Linked DNA regions of Homo sapiens: region 2 is linked to region 1. Evidence: promoter capture Hi-C in 16 types of primary human blood cells and fetal thymus (Javierre and others, 2016). All regions are on one chromosome and are shown on one strand. The core of a region is centred on a gene start or on the middle of the fragment in contact, and the rest is flanking DNA. Distances in the headings are between cores, read along the strand shown.

Region 1 (2,694 bases), core at 138-2,637:
TTTGAAGATGCTCACATCTTGCATGTGCAGTGTTACAAGAGTGGGGTTGGTGCAGGAGTGAAATGGGAGGCCGTGTCCCGAGATGGGGTCACCAGAACCTGGAGTGACAAGGTGGAGGTGGGGAGAGGAGCTTTTCCTCCTGGCTTTCCCACAAACACTGACTTCCATGCCTCTGGCCTGGAACCACATGTAACCAAAGCCATATGTTCAACTTGCGTTAATTAAATGGTGGCCTCAGCAACATTTCTGGTGCTGCTTCTGTTGCTTTGGCATTATGATGTCTTCAATATTTGTTACTGTGTGTCGTTTGTCATGTTTAACCCAGTGGCTCAGATTCTATTTGTTTGTAAAACTTAAATGTTGAGAGACTTCTGTTCTTGATTTTTTAGAAAATAAAAATTATTTTTGGTTTATTCCATGAGAACATATCTTCTATAGGTTGAACCTCCAAGGTTCTTCCTTCTTGATTTTTCTGGGAGATGACTGTAATTTTTTTTTTTTTTTGAGACGGAGTTTCGTTGCTGTTGCCCAGGCTGCTGGAGTGCAATGGTGCAATCTCAGCTCACCGCAACCTCCGCCTCCCGGGTTCAAGGAATTCTCCTGCCTCAGCCTCCCAAGTAGCCGGGACTACAAATGCGTGCCACCACGCCCAGCTAATTTTTGTATTTTTAGTAGAGATGGGGTTTCACCATGTTGGTTAAGCTGGTCTTGATCCACCTGCCTCAGCCTCCCAAAGTGCTGAGATTATAGGCGTAAGCCACTGTGCCTGGTGTAATCTTAACTGCTTTTTAGGAAATGGTGTAAGAAAAGGCTGTGCCATAAACTCAAAATCCTACTAATCCCCAGTTCTCAGCCCCAAACCGAAGAAAGATTACATTTCCAGTCCAGTTTCTAATCCCAAGTATCCATGCACCCAGGATGGCGGGAAAAGGGAAAAGGCGGTACCTTAAATGAGGGAAGGACATCTCAGTCTTGGCCAGTTCTTACTCTTCCCAGGGGCCACCCTCAAGCCCCACCCTGAGCAGGTAAGTGAGGCAGGCAGGCAGCCTGGGAGCATGTGTGGGAGGGAATCCAACGGTGTTCTCCAGGCTGCAAGAGCTGGGCAGACACAATCGTGCTGCAGCCCTGGCCTGTGTTTTTCTTTCCCACAAAGACCAACACCGGTGCTGCTGACATCATGACAGGTTTGATCATTTTTATTTTGCGGTGAGCGTGGTGTCATGGTGATGAAGAGTCCTGTGAGCTTGTGCAGGTCCCCTCAACTGCAGGCTGTCCAGGCTTCCTCCTCTACAGTAAAGACAAGGAGAATGGCTGCTTCCTAAGGTGATGGCGAGGTAGGATGAGGAGTGTAAACGGCCCACCCTGCTCCCAGTGGTAACTATGGGTATGATTTCCTTTTGGGAGAAGACAGAGATTGCCCTTCTGATCCTCCCAGCTGTAAATTTGGGCTGGGGCAACTTTTAGACACAAACAGGGCACTCCTGGCTACAGGGCCTCAATGTTTTCCTTGAGGTGGAGTATCTAGGCATTTCCCTGAGGTTTCTGATGCCTGGGCAGGGTGGGGTGGGGTGTGGCTGGTTCTGACAGCTGTTCCCCACCCAGCTTTGTGCCCTGGGGAGGGAGATCTACCTGCACATCCCGCTGCACTGGATCTGCAGGGAGCTGGGGCTGCCCTTGGACGCCTCAGGCACAGGCCCTCATCCTCTGCCTAACTGCTTTTTACACCCATCCCTTGAGTCCAGGGAGATTTTGCCACAATTTCAAAAAAGAAATGATTATTCAGAAGGCATTCTTCTATATATTTCCTTTTTTTTTTTTTTTGAGATGGAGTTTCGCTCTGTCACCAGGCTGGAGTGCAGTGGCATGATCGGCTCACTGCAACCTCCGCCTCATGGGTTCAAGCGATTCTCCTGCCTCAGCCTCCCGAGTAGCTGGGACTACAGGTGCATGCCACCACGCCCAGCTAATATTTTAATTTTTAGTAGAGATGGGGTTTCACCATGTTGGCCAGGATGGTCTTAATCTCTTGACCTCGTGATCTGCCCGCCTCAGCCTCCCAAAGTGCTGGGATTACAGGCATGAGCCACCGTGCCTGGCCACATTTCTGTATATCTTGCAAGCAGACACACTGTCTGTCTTTTATTTGATCATCTTTCCAAGGATGCTGGTATAGCATGTATGCTTGGAAAATAGAGATGCTGTTTCTCCAGAGAAAGGGGGAGCTTGCTTGCATTCTTCTATGTAGTTCTAAGGCCCCTGCTCCACTGTACAGCAAGTGGCCACACCCTTAGTGTCTTCCTTGCCTAACCCAGACCCTTACAGCACTCAGCTTGGAAAAGACCCTTGCAGCGCTCAGTTGGGTGCCATGATTATGCCTGTAATCCCAGCACTTAGGGAGGCCAAGGTGGGTGGGTCACTTGAGCCTGGGAGTTTGAGACCAGCCTGGGCACCATGGCAAAACGCCATCTCTAAAAAAAAAAAAAAAAAAAACCACAAAAATTAGCCAGGCATGAGGATGCACCTGTAGTCCCAGCTACTGGGGAGGTTGCTGCAGTGGGAGGATTGCCTGAACCCAGGGAGGTTGAGGCTGCAGTGGGCTGTGATTGTGCCACTGCACTCTATCTTGGGTGACAGAGTGAGACCCTGTCTCAAACGAAAACAAAATTTCAAAAAAAAAAAAAAGAATGCATTCTT
Region 2 (2,694 bases), core at 56-2,555, 97 kb before region 1:
ATCCCAGCACTTTGGGAGGCCAAGGCGGGTGGATCATGAGGTTAGGAGATCGAGACCATCCTGGCTAACACGGTGAAACCCTGTCTCTACTGAAAATACAAAAAAAAATTAGCCGGGCGTGGTGGCGGGCGCCTGTAGTCCCAGCTACTCAGGAGGCTGAGGCAGGAGAATGGTGTGAACCCTGGAGGCGGAGCTTTCAGTGAGCCGAGATCGCGCCACTGTGCTCCAGCCTGGGCAACAGAGTGAGACTCCGTCTCAAAAAAAAAAAAAAATCTCAAATGTAACTAATGATCAAGTCTGTAGGTAAACATAGATAGGTCTCTCAAGGTAAACGCTGGCATATTATATAAAAAATTCTTGACCTTTTATGATTGATTGCTTGTCTTTATGACTTGGACTCTTTTTATAAGATTGGATTGCATTTTTAATTCTCTCCAACTCATGAGTAATACTTGATTTATGACAGTAAATGCATTTTACACAAGAACCTAATATTTAGAAACTTACTGAAGTATCTTAAATCCTGTTTTTGTCATCAAGACAAACTTGAATTAAAGACTAAAACATTACATTTTTATTTTTTATTTTTTTTGCTTAGTATAATAATATGGTAGTGGTATCTTAGGGGAAATGTTTTAAATAAATACTAATATATCTTTTTCTTTTATTATTTCTTGGGTATCTTGTTGAATACAGTATGGATTTTAGACTAGCATGACAACATTTCTAAATTGCCTTCTGGTCAAGAGTGGTGGTTCACACCTGTAATCCCAGTACTTTGGGAAGCCAAGATGGAAGGATTGCTTGAGGCCAAGAGTTTGAGACCCACCTGGGCAATATAGTGAGACCATGTCTGTTTTTTTTTTCTTTTTTTCAATAGAGATGAGGTTTTGCCATGTTGGCCAGGCTCGTCTCGAACTCCTGAGGCTCAAGTGAACCACCCACCTCGGCCTCCCAAAGCGCTGGGATTACAGGTGTGAGCCACCACACCCAGCTAGACCACATCTCTTTTTAAACAATCAATCAATCAATCAATCAATCAATCAATATGGTTGGCAGGGCTATTGTTTCCATATGCTTAGACATCCTAGACATGTTAATTTTTCTCCTTTCAAACCTATGGTAATTTCTAGGTTCTTTTTCTTGCTGCATGTCCCAATCTAATAAAACCTAAAGTGTTACCCACTGATACACCTCAGGGTCCATGCTGCTTTGCTGAGCATCAAAATAGTGATTTAGGAAATTGTGATTTCTGGATTCTGGATTACAGTGTTAGAAATACCCAAGAAATTAGGATCTGGAAACATCCTATGTATGATGCTATGAAGGCCATTCATTGAATGGAAAAAGGATTGAAGATGGAAGAGAACCTCCTTTCCTCATATAAGCCATATATGATACTTATCTTTTTTTTTTGAGATGGAGTTTCACTCTATCATCCAGGCTGGAGGGCAGTCGCGGGATCTTTGTGGCTCTCTGCAACCTCCGCCTCCTGGGTTCAAGGGATTCTCCTGCCTTAGCCTCCTGAGTACCTTGGATTACAGGTGTGTGCCACCACACTTAGCTGATTTTTGTATTTTTAGTAGAGATGGGGTTTTGCCATGTTTGCCAGGCTGGTCTTGAACTCCTGACCTCAGGTGATCCACCTGCCTCAGCCTTCCAAAGCGCTGGGATTACAGGCATGAGACATTGTGTCCAGCCCTTCCTACCTTTTTTTTTTTTTTTTTTTTTGCAAGCATTTTTAGTTTCCTTTCTGACAGGATTGATTTGGGTAAAGAACATTGAATTTTGAGTCAATAGTCTCAAATAGATAGACCTATGTTTGAATTCCAACCCTGACCTCAATAGCTAAGTGACACTGGAAAATCTATCTCTTTGTCTCAGTTTTCCTGCTAAAAATCGGGATGGTAATGTTCACCCAGCAAGGCTTTATCACAAAAAGTGGTAACTTATGAGAAAGTCCCTATCTGGCATGGTAAGCACTCAAGAGAAATTAGTTCTATTTTCCTTCTTCCCTCTAGTTTAATAATTTAAAAAATTAAATCATGCAGCCATAAAAAAGAATGAAATTATGTCCTTTGCAGCAACAAGGATGCAGTTGGAGGCCATTATCCTAAGCGAATTAACACAGAAACAGAAAACCTAATGCCGCACATTCTTACTTATAAGTGGGAGCTAAACACTGGGTACACACAGACACAAAGATGGGAACAGTAGGCATTGGGGATTCAAAAAGGCAGAAGAGAGGAAGGGGGGCCAGGTTTGAAGAACTACTTGTGTTCACTACTTGGATGATGGGATCATTAGAGGCCTAAACCTCAGCATCATGCAATATACCCATGTAACAAACCTGTGCCCGTACCCTCTGAATCTTGGATAAAAAAATAAAAGCAGGCCAGGAGCGGTGGCTCATCCCTATAATCCCAGCACTTTGGGAGGCTGAGGCGGGCGGATCACTTGAGGTCAGGAGTTCGAGCCCAGCCTGGCCAACATGATGATACCCCATCTCTACTAAAAATACAAAAATTAGCTGGGCACAGTGGTGGGCGCCTGTAGTCCCAGCTACTCGGGAGGCTGAGGCAGGAGAATCACCTGAACCCAGGAGGCCGATGTTGCAGTGAGCCAAGATTGCGCTGCTACACTCCAGCCTGGGTGACAGAGTGAGACTCCATCTCAAAAAAAAAAAAAAAAAAA

What was found. The method cuts DNA at HindIII sites, captures the fragments that hold promoters and counts their contacts. A CHiCAGO score of 5 or more calls a contact.
Region 2: a contact is called between a fragment that was not itself captured here and the fragment with the promoter of LINC01588 in region 1, in 16 of 17 cell types (activated CD4 T cells, M0 macrophages, non-activated CD4 T cells and 13 more). The highest score is 33.8, in activated CD4 T cells.

The regions. Positions count from the first base shown.
Region 1 is chr14:50,006,133-50,008,826 of GRCh38, forward strand. LINC01588 (long intergenic non-protein coding RNA 1588) reads right to left here and starts at 1,388. Exons shown (of 4, transcript NR_126498.1): 1 at 1-1,388. LINC01599 (long intergenic non-protein coding RNA 1599) reads right to left here. Exons shown (of 9, transcript NR_131171.1): 9 at 1,181-1,287. The HindIII fragment of the contact is 14,705 bases long and covers 1-2,694 here.
Region 2 is chr14:49,908,808-49,911,501 of GRCh38, forward strand. No RefSeq gene overlaps it. Among named protein-coding and RNA genes, the nearest start is that of ARF6, 17 kb to the left of the region's middle. The HindIII fragment of the contact is 4,514 bases long and covers 1-2,694 here.